Linked DNA regions of Homo sapiens: all the other regions are linked to region 1. The links are contacts of gene promoters, found by promoter capture Hi-C in blood cells and fetal thymus (Javierre and others, 2016). All regions are on one chromosome and are shown on one strand. The core of a region is centred on a gene start or on the middle of the fragment in contact, and the rest is flanking DNA. Distances in the headings are between cores, read along the strand shown. Region 1 holds the start of HOXA11 (homeobox A11). Region 2 overlaps HIBADH (3-hydroxyisobutyrate dehydrogenase). Region 3 overlaps HIBADH (3-hydroxyisobutyrate dehydrogenase).

Evidence for each region. The method cuts DNA at HindIII sites, captures the fragments that hold promoters and counts their contacts. A CHiCAGO score of 5 or more calls a contact.
Region 2: a contact is called between a fragment that was not itself captured here and the fragment with the promoter of HOXA11 in region 1, in 1 of 17 cell types (endothelial precursors). The highest score is 5.0, in endothelial precursors.
Region 3: a fragment that was not itself captured here is called in contact with the fragment with the promoter of HOXA11 in region 1 in 1 of 17 cell types (M0 macrophages); the score reaches 5.2 in M0 macrophages.

Annotation. Positions count from the first base shown.
Region 1 is chr7:27,182,750-27,187,584 of GRCh38, reverse strand. It overlaps HOXA11 (homeobox A11), which reads left to right and starts at 2,353. Exons shown (of 2, transcript NM_005523.6): 1 at 2,353-3,149; 2 at 4,557-4,835. The coding sequence starts at 2,441. The coding sequence ends at 4,789. It overlaps HOXA11-AS (HOXA11 antisense RNA), which reads right to left and starts at 2,177. Exons shown (of 2, transcript NR_002795.2): 1 at 1,322-2,177. RefSeq lists enhancers at 1,226-2,107, 2,990-3,871, 3,872-4,754. The HindIII fragment of the contact is 8,872 bases long and covers 1-4,835 here.
Region 2 is chr7:27,637,497-27,642,331 of GRCh38, reverse strand. The region is part of intron 2 of HIBADH (3-hydroxyisobutyrate dehydrogenase); the gene reads left to right. Among named protein-coding and RNA genes, the nearest start is that of HIBADH, 23 kb to the left of the region's middle. The HindIII fragment of the contact is 1,357 bases long and covers 1,365-2,721 here.
Region 3 is chr7:27,581,540-27,586,374 of GRCh38, reverse strand. All of the region lies in intron 4 of HIBADH (3-hydroxyisobutyrate dehydrogenase), which reads left to right. Among named protein-coding and RNA genes, the nearest start is that of TSL, 32 kb to the left of the region's middle. The HindIII fragment of the contact is 587 bases long and covers 2,602-3,188 here.

The sequences.
Region 1 (4,835 bases), core at 1,104-3,603:
TGTTTGAAACCTCTCCTTCTGTCTTTTATATTCTGTCTCTAAAAAAGAGATGCTGTGGAGAAACAAACATTTTGCCTTGTTGGTCACTGCTGGAAATAGAAGTTTTTTCGCTGCAGGGCAATTCTGTAAATGTGCTTCCCAGCTTTAGGAGGTCTGAGGCTACTCTTCTCCAATAACCTTCCTTCCCACTGGACCTTCTCACTCACAGCACTGCTGCCCTCTGGACAAGCCACAGTGGACAAATATGTCAAGCTGAAGATGCACAAATAATTTCAAGTTCAGTTCTCAGGGATTCAAAGGACATGAAAATTCTTGTAGCAAATCTTGAATAAAGAGTTCATTAAACCAATGTGTCCAAGTAGCTTGATTTGTGATAAGCAATCCTTGTAAAGGTGGTGGTGGGGGGAGGTGGAGAGCCACATAAACATTAATGCTAATAAATTAGTTTACTCGACTACAGAGTAATTACTTCATATTATTGATATTTACAGCAGGTATTCAAATGCAATGGTAGGCCATTATTTGGAGAAAATACATAATAAGAATATTTCTTTTCCAGTGCAATACACGATTAGATTTGTTATTGAGTCAGTTACAGTCAGCTCAGCAATAAATAAATAAATCGATGTTGACACTTAAATACCAAAGATCTTAGAGTTTATACTCTAAATCTCCCCAAGATATGTAAATAACTTTGGCTATTTCCTGGAGAGGGAAAAACAAAAGGTTATCTTTTTACATATTTTTTTATTTTCCTTCAGCAACATCCCAGATCCTTCCAAGAAGAGAGTTGTTGGGAGGCCTCAGGTCTGGGCCCTTCTCAGCTCCTGGCTCTGCCTGGCTGCTCTGTGCTCTGTGTCCTCTCCTTTCTTTCGCTTCCTCCAAACATTGCTCCTTCAATCCTGCAGGATGGGGAGCATATTTTGCCTTCTTAATTTATTTTTTTTCCTCTTCTCAAGAAAGCTAGACTCAGAGTATTGCTATGGCCTCTCTCTATCCTTAGCACAAACCTAGCTTTTTAAAGACATCCCTGTTTCCCCAGGTGCAGGGAGTTCGGGAAGCACCTCTCCTTTCTCTGGTATTGTATTCCTCCTGTGGAATGAGCAGTAGGAAAGGCACAGAGCTCTCTGAGTTTTTGCCCTGCACATCCCTTGCTTTCACTCTCACACATTGCAAGGAAGGAGAGTAGGAGAGTAGGTGGGTTACCCCTTTCTCAGCCACCTCTCCTTGGCCCTCAGCCCGTCCTTTCCACCTCCATTCTCCCCACACCCCTGGAGCTCTGTAAGCAGCCTGATGGGCCCCCCACGAAGATGCAGCATACCCAGGAGAAGTCTCCTCGGATGTCAGCGCCTCTAAAGCAGCCCAAGGCTTGCCTCAATTGCATGGTTTCCCGAGTCCTCAGCTCCAGAAGACCAGGCAGATGGGTGGACCGGTGAGCAGCAGGGCAGCCCCTGTGCCTCTGTCTCTGCCGAGTCACTCCGAAGCCCGGCAGGCAGCGAGGAGGAGGGAGTTTCTCCAAGGACAGAAGGTGGGATGAAGAGGTAGGCAGGGAAGATGAGGGGAGAGGTGGATCCCGGGTAAGACGAAGGCCCTTCCGGGCCCTGCGGATCAGTGACAAACCGCGGGGAGAAGCCGTTCTGGCTGTTGGCGGTTTAGGGACGGAAGGCACTAAAGCGCTTCGGAAGTGACCATGAATGAGAGAGTGTAATCAAGTCACCGTGCAAATCGGACAAGCCACCAGGCAGGCACATCCACGGCTTCAAACTCTGGCCCCGAAGGGGTTCCGGCTAGGGTCGGAGGCAGAGGCGCTTCCCAGAGCAAGTCTATGGGAGGGGGACTGCGAAGAAGGGGGTGCAAATGCGAGACTCCAGGAGAACAGACTCCGAGACCACAGGCCACACAGCGACGGACTCCCACCTGGCTATCCCCAGTCCAGGGCATCCCTCACCCACCCGGGGAGCTGCGGGTGGGAGGTGGGGACGAGAGTTGAGCTCTCACCGCCCTCTGCACACTCGAGAACGAGGACCCTGCAATTGAGCACAAGCATGCTGCATGGGGGCGCACCCCAGCCTCTCCGCGCGCGCCGGGAGGCCCCCCAGCCAACATGAGTTACACCGGCGATTACGTGCTTTCGGTGAGAACACCGAGTGACGATCTGTTGCTTCCCCTGAGGTGGCTACAAAGAAAGGAAGCCGGGAGGGAGGGGAGAGGAGGAAAAAAAAAAAAGGAAAGGGGGGGGGAAAAGGCCCGGACTAGCTAGCAGCTTGTCAATTTCAACATCGGGTCACATGACCAGCACCTCCCTGCTAAGGATGGGGATAGATTTCCACGTCAGCTTACGTCTCCAAATTTCTACTTCACGGATCCGCTTCAAAGAGGCAGCTGCAGTGGAGAATCATGTTAAGCTCGGCTACTGCGGAGAGCCCAAGGTAGCCCAATAATGGATTTTGATGAGCGTGGTCCCTGCTCCTCTAACATGTATTTGCCAAGTTGTACTTACTACGTCTCGGGTCCAGATTTCTCCAGCCTCCCTTCTTTTCTGCCCCAGACCCCGTCTTCGCGCCCAATGACATACTCCTACTCCTCCAACCTGCCCCAGGTCCAACCCGTGCGCGAAGTGACCTTCAGAGAGTACGCCATTGAGCCCGCCACTAAATGGCACCCCCGCGGCAATCTGGCCCACTGCTACTCCGCGGAGGAGCTCGTGCACAGAGACTGCCTGCAGGCGCCCAGCGCGGCCGGCGTGCCTGGCGACGTGCTGGCCAAGAGCTCGGCCAACGTCTACCACCACCCCACCCCCGCAGTCTCGTCCAATTTCTATAGCACCGTGGGCAGGAACGGCGTCCTGCCACAGGCTTTCGACCAGTTTTTCGAGACAGCCTACGGCACCCCGGAAAACCTCGCCTCCTCCGACTACCCCGGGGACAAGAGCGCCGAGAAGGGGCCCCCGGCGGCCACGGCGACCTCCGCGGCGGCGGCGGCGGCTGCAACGGGCGCGCCGGCAACTTCAAGTTCGGACAGCGGCGGCGGCGGCGGCTGCCGGGAGACGGCGGCGGCAGCAGAGGAGAAAGAGCGGCGGCGGCGCCCCGAGAGCAGCAGCAGCCCCGAGTCGTCTTCCGGCCACACTGAGGACAAGGCCGGCGGCTCCAGTACGTATAAAGGCAGCGCCCTGCGCTTTATGAAAGGGGAGTTGGAAATCTAGCGCAGCACCGCTGTTAAATTTTTATATGCTGTTTTATAAGCATATAAGGTTTATGAAGGGCCTTTAGGTTTCCCCCAACAAAACTTTGTTATAAAAGGCGGGATCACGTGGCGAGTGCTGAAATTGGCCGTGAAATACCCACCGGCCAAGGCATGCCTGCAAAAAAAAACAACTCCCCTTTTCCCTTTTTTCCCTTCTCAGCTCCCAAGCCCAGCAGCTCGACCCCGCTCGGGGCCAGCTCCAGGCTGGGGAGCCGGAGGTGGGCGCCTGTAAATTCCCCCTGCAAGGGCTTCGGGAGCTTTTGATAGCGAGGTAATCCGGAGATTTTTATAAAAGCCATGTGTTGCGCCGGGACTCCAGTCCCGGCCGGGATTCAAAGGCGTCGCTGTTTAACGACGGCGCTAGGAGCGCGTTTAACAGATAAAGTAGCCCGCTTAGCTCTAGCAATATATTAAAAGAACAAATTAACCCAAAGTTGGCCTTTTTGTCCAAAGGAAGCCATTTTCCTCTGGCGTGGTGGCAATTACGTGCCTCCTTCTGCCCAACTGCATGTTATTCACAATTGTTATTCAATCTGTCAAAAGCGATTTTTTTTTTGTCTTGTGGGTCTTTTTTTTTTTTTTTTTTTTTTTTTTAAAGGGGGAGCAAGTAGAGCCTGCCCGCAGCTTCGGGAAGCCCCCTTTCCCTTCACCCTACCTAAGATAGAGCCGCTGCTCTGCCGTGTGCAGGATGGCCGTGTGGCCGTGGTGCTCAGCGAAGGCCTAGGGTAGGGGGCTTCCGCCGCCACCTCCCCACCTCGGCGGAGCCGGAAGGCTGGCCGGGGAGGCAGAAGCTGGTGGCCAGGACTCAGGCTGACAAAGACCCGGCAGCCGCCCCAGATGTTAAGGACTGCCCAGTCTTGGCCGCAGCCGGGAAAGACTGGGACTGGAGCCGCCTTTACTGCCTTGGGAAGGGGCAGCCCAGGTGCTGGAAGGTGAAATGTCCGCAGGCGGCTGTTTGTTTAGTCTGGCCTGCGAGAGGCAGCCGGCAACCCCCACTTGGCTGCTTTCAAAGAGGCTTAGGCAGCGCAAACTCGCCTGTTGCTGTGCGAAGCTCTCCTTTCTGTTCTGGGGGCAGCGGGAGCAGCTTCCCCGGGGGCCTATTTAGGGAGCTGGCTTTTATCTGTGGCTGAGCCTCCAACTGCGGCCGTTCCAAGCATGCAGTCGGAGCGTTAAAGGCAGGGGCCTGGGCAGACTTTGACGGGGCTTGGGCTGGACCACCAGTCCCCATGGCAGCCCTTCTCCTCAGCTATGGGCTCTGGGGTGGATTGCAGCCCCCACACCTGGCTCACCCCATGCCTTTTCTCCCTCCACAGGTGGCCAACGCACCCGCAAAAAGCGCTGCCCCTATACCAAGTACCAGATCCGAGAGCTGGAACGGGAGTTCTTCTTCAGCGTCTACATTAACAAAGAGAAGCGCCTGCAACTGTCCCGCATGCTCAACCTCACTGATCGTCAAGTCAAAATCTGGTTTCAGAACAGGAGAATGAAGGAAAAAAAAATTAACAGAGACCGTTTACAGTACTACTCAGCAAATCCACTCCTCTAAGACTCCAGCGGCTGGAATTGGGTGGGGGGCTTCATACACATGAGAT
Region 2 (4,835 bases), core at 794-3,293, 460 kb before region 1:
AAAAAATAAGCAACTCTTAAGGATCATTTCATTTCTGATAGGGAATTACAGGAAGATTGCATGTAATCTTTACTCACCCAACAAAGATTGTAAAATGAAATCATGAAGGACAAGGTCTCCAAGATTCCTGCATAAAAATTTGAGGGTTCCAGGACACAGACTCAGTTACTGGGTTTTCCTTTTTCTTCTTCCTTGCAATATGTCACTGGGTGTGAAGAAGGAAAGAAGGTGGGTTCTGGGTCGGTGCTCCTCCCAGATTAGTGAATAATAGCGAAGACTTAGCTTCTTGTGCACAGTTGCCACTCCTCCCCCAATACACAGTGGGGAAAATTCTGTGTGTGGTTCACCCTGAGGCAGGAAGCCTGGAAGACAGAATCTTCTTGCCTCTCTTCCTCACATCTCTCATTCTCTTAAGCATCTTGACTCTAAGAGGTCCTCTGAGTATTGATTTTAACAGCAGTGGAAGGTGGGACAATGTGAAATTCAGATGAATGAAGTGAGAAAGGTAAAGGGTGAAAAAGCTTTGGTCCTGAGGGCAACAGAAAATGAAAGCATTTGTTGATAAATGATTTACGTTGGCAGCTTAGAGAGTGTTTTGAACAGTGGCCATGTCATCAGAACAAGTGTGATTTCCTAAGAGCACTACTTTAAAAGGTAATATTAATTTGGATGAATACGTTCTGATATATTAAAATGTCAACATTCTTATTTCATAGCTATGTTTAGTTTTTTAAAATGTTGGATAAAAGAAAAAATGAATTTCATTCTATTACCATAAGGCCAAGACACGACTTGGGATGAGATGGAAAAGTATGTGTGAAACTCTGAAACTTTTTGCCACAATAGTGCCCTGAAGGGTGGGTTTAAAGGTTAAAAAATTCAGCGTATATTTGAGTTGACTCATACATTTTTAAGGACGGGTGTCCATTTCCTCCCTCTGTGTTACTATATCAAGTCAAGCTGATGAAGTGAGAGCCAAAGAAAACAAGCCCATCCCCCAACACCCCACCAAGATTGCAGAAATGCTGGTTAGTTGATTTCTAATGTCAGCTGTTCTTTCAGTGAGAGATTTGCAGGGAAGAAAATCAGATGTTGTTTTGAAGAAGTGCTTTTGTTTTTTTTGAAAGCAAAAACTGAGAATTTATTGTTTCATGTATTGGAAGAGTTGGGGAGTGGCCTGACCTCTGGCAGAGCTGAATTTAGTGACATAGATACAGCCAGATTCTTTTCTTTTCTCTTTGCTTCTGGAGTCTGCTTTTCTCCATCAGGCTCCTCTCTCCCTTCAAGGTGCAAGATGGCCACCTGCCGTTCCAGGTGAAGAAGTATTTTAGAATATTATGACCCTGGAGGCTTTTCTTCAAGCTTTAGTAAAACCGTAGTCATGCACCTCATAAGGATGTTTTGGTCATGGACTGCATACATAAAGGTGGTCCCATAGGATTATAATAGAGTATTTTTACTGTACCTTTTGTATGTATAGATCATTAAATGTACAAATTCTTACATTATGTTACAGTTGCCTACAGTATTCAGTACATTAACGTTGCTGTACAGGTTTGTAGCCTAGAAGAAATACACTACACCATGAAGGTCTGTAAGTGCTCTCTCTGATGTTCGTGCAACATGAAATAGCCTAACAACTGTCAACCTTATTAAAATAATGATTCAGAAACTGTGATTAGGTATAGAGTTTATTCAGGCCCAAAAGGTGGAAAATGGCCACCTGGAAGCATAAATTCAAGTTGCCTTGAATATATACGATTAGCAGATGTTACAAGTGATTTTGTTTGTTCATTTCTTTTGAGACAGGGTCTCTCTCTGTCACCCAGGCTGGAATGCAGTGGCGGGATCATGGCTCACTGCAGCCTCAACCTCCCAGACTCAAGTGATCCTCCCGCCCCTGCCTCCCAAGTAGTTGGGACCACAGGTGTGCACCACCATGCCCAGCCAATTTTTGTATTTTTGTAGAGACAGGGTTTTGCTTTGTTGCCCAGGCTGGGCTTGAACTCCTGGGCTCAAGTGATCAGCCCACCTTGGCCTCCCAAAGTGTTGGGATTACAGGTGTGAGCCATTGCACCTGGCCCCAGGTGGGTTTTTAAGGAAAAAAGAAGAGGCAGTTCCTAAGTTGTTTAACAAGAGTTTACATTAACATAAATTATTAATTGACTGTACATTGTTCTTTGTATTCCAAATTCCAGGAATATGACAATAATAAGGGAGGCAGCTAGTCAGGAACAAAAATGCCTTTAAGCAATTGCCACTGGGCACGGAGGGTGGCGGTGACCAAAGTCCTATGCTTACGTCTCTCTGGGCCTGATAAATTTTGCAAACCTCACATAGTTCAGACTACTTCAAGTTATTTTTCTTTTCTCACAACGCATTTCTCAGAACGTATCTCTTTTGCTTGACTGTACGTGGATTATTAGGGAAATAAAAACTTTGATAAGTTTAATATGTTTTACAGGACTACTTAATAGCTTGTTTATGCCTTTAAGTGTTAACCTATTCTGATAAGGCATTTATAATTGGTTGAACTTGTTATTTGTGGTCATTTTCATAAAATATGTGGACGTTTCCGTATCCCTTTATTTTTTTTAATTTAAAAACAAAATCAGAGGGAAGTTTTTATTATATAAGCATTTATTAAAATAAGTTGGGCAGAATGATGGACTCAGAAAATGAGTGTGTTTGTAGGGCAGCCTCCAAGGCCCACAGGAAGCTTGCAGTTGATGTTTTTTAACTTTTAGGTTCGGAGGTAATTGTGCAGGTTTGTTATATAGGTAAATTGCATGTCACAGGAGTTTGGTGTACAGATTATTTTGCCACCCAGGTAATAAGCACGGTACCTGGCAGGTAGTTTTTTGATCCTCACCCTCTGTCCCTCCCTCCCCCCTCAGGTAGTCTCAAGTGTCTGTTGTTCCTTTCTTTGTGTCTGTGTGTACTCAGTGTTTTGCTCCCACTTATAAGTGAGAATGTGTGGTATTTGGTTTCTTTCCCTGGATTAGTTTGCTTAGGATAATGGCCTCCAGCTCTATCCATGTTGCTGTAAAGGCCATGATCTCATTCTTTTTTATGGCTGCATAGTATTTCATGGTGTATATGTACCACATTTTCTTTATTCAGTCTACCATTGATGGGCATTTAGGTTGGTTCCATGTCTTTGCTATTGTGAATAGTGCTATGATGAACATACGGGTGCATGTGTCTTTATGGTGAACTGTTTATATTCCTTTGGGTATGTACCCAATAATGGGATTGCTGGGTTGAATGGTAATTCTGCTTTGAGTTCTTTGAGGAATCACCACACTGCTTCCACAGTAACTCATCTAATTTGCATTCCCACCAGCGGTGTATAAATGTTCCTTTTTCTCTGCAACCTTGCCAGCATCTCTTATTTTTTGACTTTTTAATAACAGCCATTCTGAGTGGTGTGATATTGTATCTCATTGTGGTTTTGATTTGCATTTCACTAATGATTAGTGATGTTCAGCATTTTTTCATGTTTGTTGACTGTGTGTATGTCTTTTTTTGAAAAGTGTCTGTTCATGTCCTTTGCCTACTCTTTAATGCAGTTGTTTGGTTTTTGCTTGTTGATTTAAGTTCCCTATAGATTCTGAGTAGTAGACCTTTGTGGGATGCATAGTTTGCAAACATTTTCTCCCATTAGGTAGGTTGTCTGTTTATTTTTTGTTGATAGTTTCTTTTGCTGTGCAGAAGCTGTTTAGTTTAATTAGGTCTCATTTGTCAATTTTTGTTTTTGTTGCAGTTGCTTTTGATATCTTTGTCTTGAAATCTTTTCCAGGTCCTATGTCTAGAAACAGTATTTCCTAGGTTATCTTCCAGGTTTTTATAGCTTTAGGTTTTACATTTAAGTCTTTAATCCACCTTGAGTTGAATTTTGAGTATGGTATAAGGAGGGTTCCAGTTTCAGTTTTTTGCATATGGCTAGCCAGTTATTCCAGCACCATTTATTGAATAGGGAGTCCTTTCCTTATTGCTTGTTTTTTTTTTTTTTTTTTTTTTGACTTTGCCAAAGATCAGATGGGTATAGGTGTGCAGCATTGTTTCTGTACTTTATTCTGTCCCATTGGTCTGTGTGCCTGTTTTGTTCCAGTACCATGCTATTTTGGTTACTGTAGCCCTATAGAAAAGTTTGAGTTTGAAGTTGGGTAACATGATGCCTCCAGCTTTGTTCTTTTTGCTTAGGAGTGCCTTGACTATTTGAGCTCCTTTTTTGGTTCCATATAAATTTTAAAATAGTTTTTTTCTAATTCTGTGAAGAATGTCATTGGTAGTTTGATAGGAATAGCCCTGAATCTATAAATTGCTTTGGGCAATATGGCCATTTTAACAAAATTGATTATTCCTATCCATGAGCATGGAATGTTTGTGTCATCTCTGATTTCTTTGAGTAGTATTTTGTAATTCTTGTTATAGAGATCTTTCACCTCTCTGGTTAGCTGTATTCCTGTATTTTATTCTTTTTGTGGCTATTGTGAATGGGATTGTGTTCTTGATTGGGCTCTTGGCTTGATTGTTGTTGGTATATAGGAATGTTAGTTATTTTTGCGCATTGATTTTGTGTCTTGGGACTTGGCTGAAGTTGTTTATCAGCTTAAGGAGATTTGGGCTGAGACTATGGGGTTTTCTAGATACAGCGTCATGTCTGCACACAGGGATAGGTTGACTTCCTCTCTTCATATTTGAATGCCTTTTATTTCTTGCCTGATTGCTCTGGCCAGGACTTAAGTACTATGTTGAATAGGAGTGATGAGATAGGGCATCCTTGCCTGGTTCCGGTTTTCAAGAAGAGTGCTTCTACCTTTTGCCCATTC
Region 3 (4,835 bases), core at 1,646-4,145, 400 kb before region 1:
CCTTCTCTCTCTCCCTGTCTCTCTTTCTCTCTTTCTTTTTTTCCACATTGCTCTACACTGCAGTTGCTCTGGATTATTGTAATATTCTTAAAACCTTGAAACCCAGTTGCCAAACTTCCTGAGAGCTCATGTAGACTATCAGTTGGAATGGAAAGAATGTTCCTTTTTGTGTTTTCCTTCTGTTTTTGCATATTTGCAACAAGGGCATATTTGCTTTTGTAGAAATTGGTGATAATCTAATAATTTATATTGAATGTATTGTTCATAGGGAAAAAACATTTTTAAAGAATAAATTGCAGAGAAAATGCGTGAACTGATGTGAAGTCAGTTTGTTAAGTCACCTCCCCCTTCACGTCCAGGTGGACTGAATTTATGTGGAGGAATTACATAACCACCTATCTTCTTAGATTAGAATAGAATAGCATGGAAGAAGGCCAGCTTTCTGCCTGCTGTTAATAAAGTTTACATCTGTGTTCTTAAATTGAGAATTTTGCCATCTTATAACATTTTCTCCAAAAAAATTTAAAAAAAAATCATGTACCTAGAAAATACAACCATTTTTAAGGGCAGGAAAACTCTAGATTCATTTTTCAGTAAACAGAAAACTTAAATGTTACAAGCCCCAAACTCACTCACTTTTAGGACAACCAAAATCTGGTGAAACCAATTTATACACTTCCTTTGAGTGTGTGTCATTGACATTTGATCTGTTTCTCTTTGAATCGTCTTACAAATGCTTTTTACTTTTTCATTCTTTTCCTAATTATTTCTCATATCATCCCAGTGAATTAGACAGGGTAAATAATATCTTCATTTTGATGAGATGAAATGTGAGCCACAATGAAGGCAAATATATGTAGTGTCTCCTGGCTAATCTGGGGCCACCCAGTCTTTGTGGCAGTCAGGATGGTTCTGAAAAGTTATTATGTTTAACCCTCAGATTGGCAAAGATACAAAAGTCTAGTCCTAGCATAGATAGGGAAGATGTGTAGCCTCATAGACTGCTTTGGTGATGTAAGTTATTTGAACCAACTCAGAGAACAGTTTGGTAGTATGCATCAAAAACTTTTATACATACACACACGTGTGTGCATATACATACACATACATACACACGTGTGTATATATGCACACGTGTGTGCACATGCAAATATACACACGTACTTTTATACATACATATGTGTGTGCATATATACACACATATATACATATATAAAAAACATGCACACCTGTATGTATGTATAAAAGCTCTATATTTATAGGTCTATAAATTTACCTAGTAATTTATGTATGTATATTTTTACAAATATATATAATTTACCAAGTAATTCCACTTTAAGAATTTATCCCCCCAGAGTAAGAATATGTGTAAAGATTTAACTATAAGAATGTACTTTTAGCATTGTTAAGAACATTGGTTCTCAGTGTACCCTCCATGGATCCCTAGGAGGCCATAAAGTGAAAATTATTTTTCTAATAATAGAGTAATAATACTCATGGTGCAAAAGGAATGGTGAGTAAAACTGCTGCCCTTAGCAAGAGTCAAGACAGTGGTATCGTATTCTTAACAGCTACACATAAAGCATTCCACTTAATGTTCCTTGATGAAGCATTAAAAATTATTAATTTTATTAAATCTTAATGTTGAGTACATGTCTTTTGTATATTTTATTTGATGTAATGGAAAATATGCCCCAAACGATCCTGCTACAGTTGGTATTGGGGTTGTCTTGAGAAGTATTTAGGTGATTGTTTGAGTTGCCAGCTATACTATCTGCATTTTTGTGGAACACCATTTTTATTTCAAAGAATAACAAGACATCTTATAGAAAGAAAAAAGTGAGTCTTACTTCAAGGAAAGCAACTGAGGGTATTTGTAACCAATGATAAAACTGGATCTTTCAAGTAAAAATTAGAATTTTGGAAAACTTGTATCTGACCATATGAACTTAACAACTTTCTAATCCTTAAAGACTTTTGTGAAAAGATTGTTGGTGCAGTTAAAGAATGTGAGTTTCTGTTACTGTATACTGGGAATTTAGAATATCTGCATAACTAACTGAACGAGTATTTTCCAATTGACCGTTGTATGATGTTACCAAATTATGCCTAGATAAAAGATGCAAAGTACAAAATAGAGGGATAGATTTTAATGTAACATAGTATAAAAAGTTCTTTCCACATTGCAACAAGCCTTTAAGAAACCACCATTTGTCAGGTTTGGGTTTAATATAAAAGAAGGATATCCACAATTATCTGAAAAAGTTATTAAAATTCTCTCTTACTTTTTTAAACTGCATTATCTATATGAGGTCAGCTTTTCTTAATTTCAACCAAAACAACATATATCTGCTTCTGCATTTAATCTACTATGAAAATCCAGCTGTCTTCTATTAAGCCAGAACTAAAGAGATTTGAAAAATTGTCAAGCAGTGCTACTCTTCTCACTAAATTTTGTTGCTTGTTATTTTTCCCAAAATATGTTAATATGTATTAGGTTTATGATTGATGTTTTTAAGTCAATTGAGAAATGTTTTTAAAATTTGTTTTGATTTCTAATACAGTAAATACCAATAGATATAATCCACATAAACAAAAGCTTTTGTGTCCTCAAAAATATTTAAAGAGTATAAAGAAATCCTAAGACCAAAAAGTTTAAGAACCACTGGTTTAAAATGATGAGGCCTTGGAAATAACCCAAATGTCCAATAAGGGAGAATTGATTAAATTACATATTATGAATCAGTGATGTAGATAAATATCTGACATGAAAATATTTTACAGTGTTGTGTTAGTAGTAAAAGCAGGTTTTGAAACAATACATGAATTAATGTCACAAAAAGTTATTAATATATAATATGCTTAATATTGTATTCTATAATACCTAGGTATTAGGTAGCTTTTTCTTGAAAAGGAAGGTAGAAAAAGTTTTTTTGAAGTTGTCATAACAGTATTAGACTGCATCATGAGATACTGTTTCCTTCTGGCTTTTGGTGAAGGTATTTGCTTTTTACTAGTTTTGTAACATTGGCCAAGTCTGAATTTTGTTCTCCTTACTTTAAAAATCAGATCAAGGTTGTTAACAGAGTAAGCTGTTCAATGTATTTTACTTCCCTCTAACATCTCCTTAGCTTTTAAAATTCTGTATAATAGCGGTGTATCTGTGACAATTAATGCTTAATAAAGCTTCCCTTGAAGTCAAAATAAGGGTCTTTTGAAAACAAGAACACATCTTGTAAATATCATCTTATTTCTGTGAAAAAAAAGTTTTGTGGAATAATAGCTGTAATACAGAAAGTAAATTATCATCATGCAGATGCTTATTGGTAAAGATAGGTAAGGTAGCTTATGATTATACACTAAGTACTAGGCCAGGTATTTTGTAAAATTGCTGAGTACTTTACAGACATCATCTCATTTAATCCTCACAAAAGCCCTGTGAGGTCAGTACTGTTGTTATCCCCATTTTACTGATGTGGAAATGGTCTCATAAAGAGGTTAAAGAATTTGTCCTACTCATTTGTAGAGGTAGAGCTAATTCAGACATGAGCCTGGCTGACTGTAAGGTTTGTGCTTTTTATCCATATAATAATCTCCAACCAAAGAGAAATGAAAAACCACCATACGGACACAAAGAGCAGCTCGCCCAGCTTCTTACTCTGGGAAACCAGATTGATTTTGAGGTGGGGAGAAGCCTGGATAAAGTCCCATACACTTAGATCTCTAGGCCATAAAGATTCATTCCACAGCATTCAATTAGAATAATGTAAATATGTAAAACCCAGTGCCTGGTATATCATAATTATTTAGTAAGTGGGAGTGAACTATTACAATAATTCTACGACTAAGCCAGAAATTAGGTTCCTGTTCATAAAATAGGAAAAGAAAAAAATTCCCATAGTCCCACAATCCCTTACTTGAAACTCTTGGAGTCATGTGAGTTTTGTTTTAGAATTATAGCAAGGTAATATGTATATTTACCATATGCTATGTAACATCCCCAGCAGAGACCAGGGCAGCCCCCTGTAATCAAAACACCAACAATTTCTGCAATGAAATATATGAATATTCACACTAAGCAGAAGAAATGAAGACTATAGCCTTAAATCAGTTCAGGTAAAGTTTTGCTGCCAAATGAGTGAAGAAAAACTCTTTTGCATTTCAGAGCTTATTGTATAAGAGTTGAAGGGAAGGGATTGTGTACTTGTAAAGCATACAACAACATTTCAAGGAGAATAAAGAAGCAATTACTTTACTAAGTTGAATAGACAAGTGATAGTTCTGTTCAAAAGAGACTGTTAATCCTAAGTCAAAGCATGAAGTCTTTTTGGCCTCTGATTTCAAATGCTAATAATTACATCCAAAGAGAGAAAACAAGCATCTCTTATTTTATCTTCTTTCAAATAAGTATGCGTCACTTTAAATGAAGTTGGGGACTAAAATCAAGTACTATATTTTTTTTCTAGAGGATCTGTGTTTATCAAAGAAAACACAAGAAGCTAAATCCATTTGAATTGGGTTTTTTTTTTGTAGATTCCTTTTTGTAATAGAATCTCATTTTTTTAAAATGAGAATGGAAAAATGATATTCTGTATGGTGGTCTTTAAGTGCTGAAGGATCCACAGAGTCTTCTGAACTTTGAAAGAAACTAAGTTTGGCCACTCCTGAGCAAAAGTAATCTAGAAAAAGCGATAAGTATATAAGGTGATGGATATGTTAATTAGCTTGATTTAATCATTGCACAATGTATACATTTATCGAAATATGTTGTATATCATAAATCTATAAAATTTTTATCAATTAAACCTTAATAAATTTGGAGGAGAAAAGGAAAT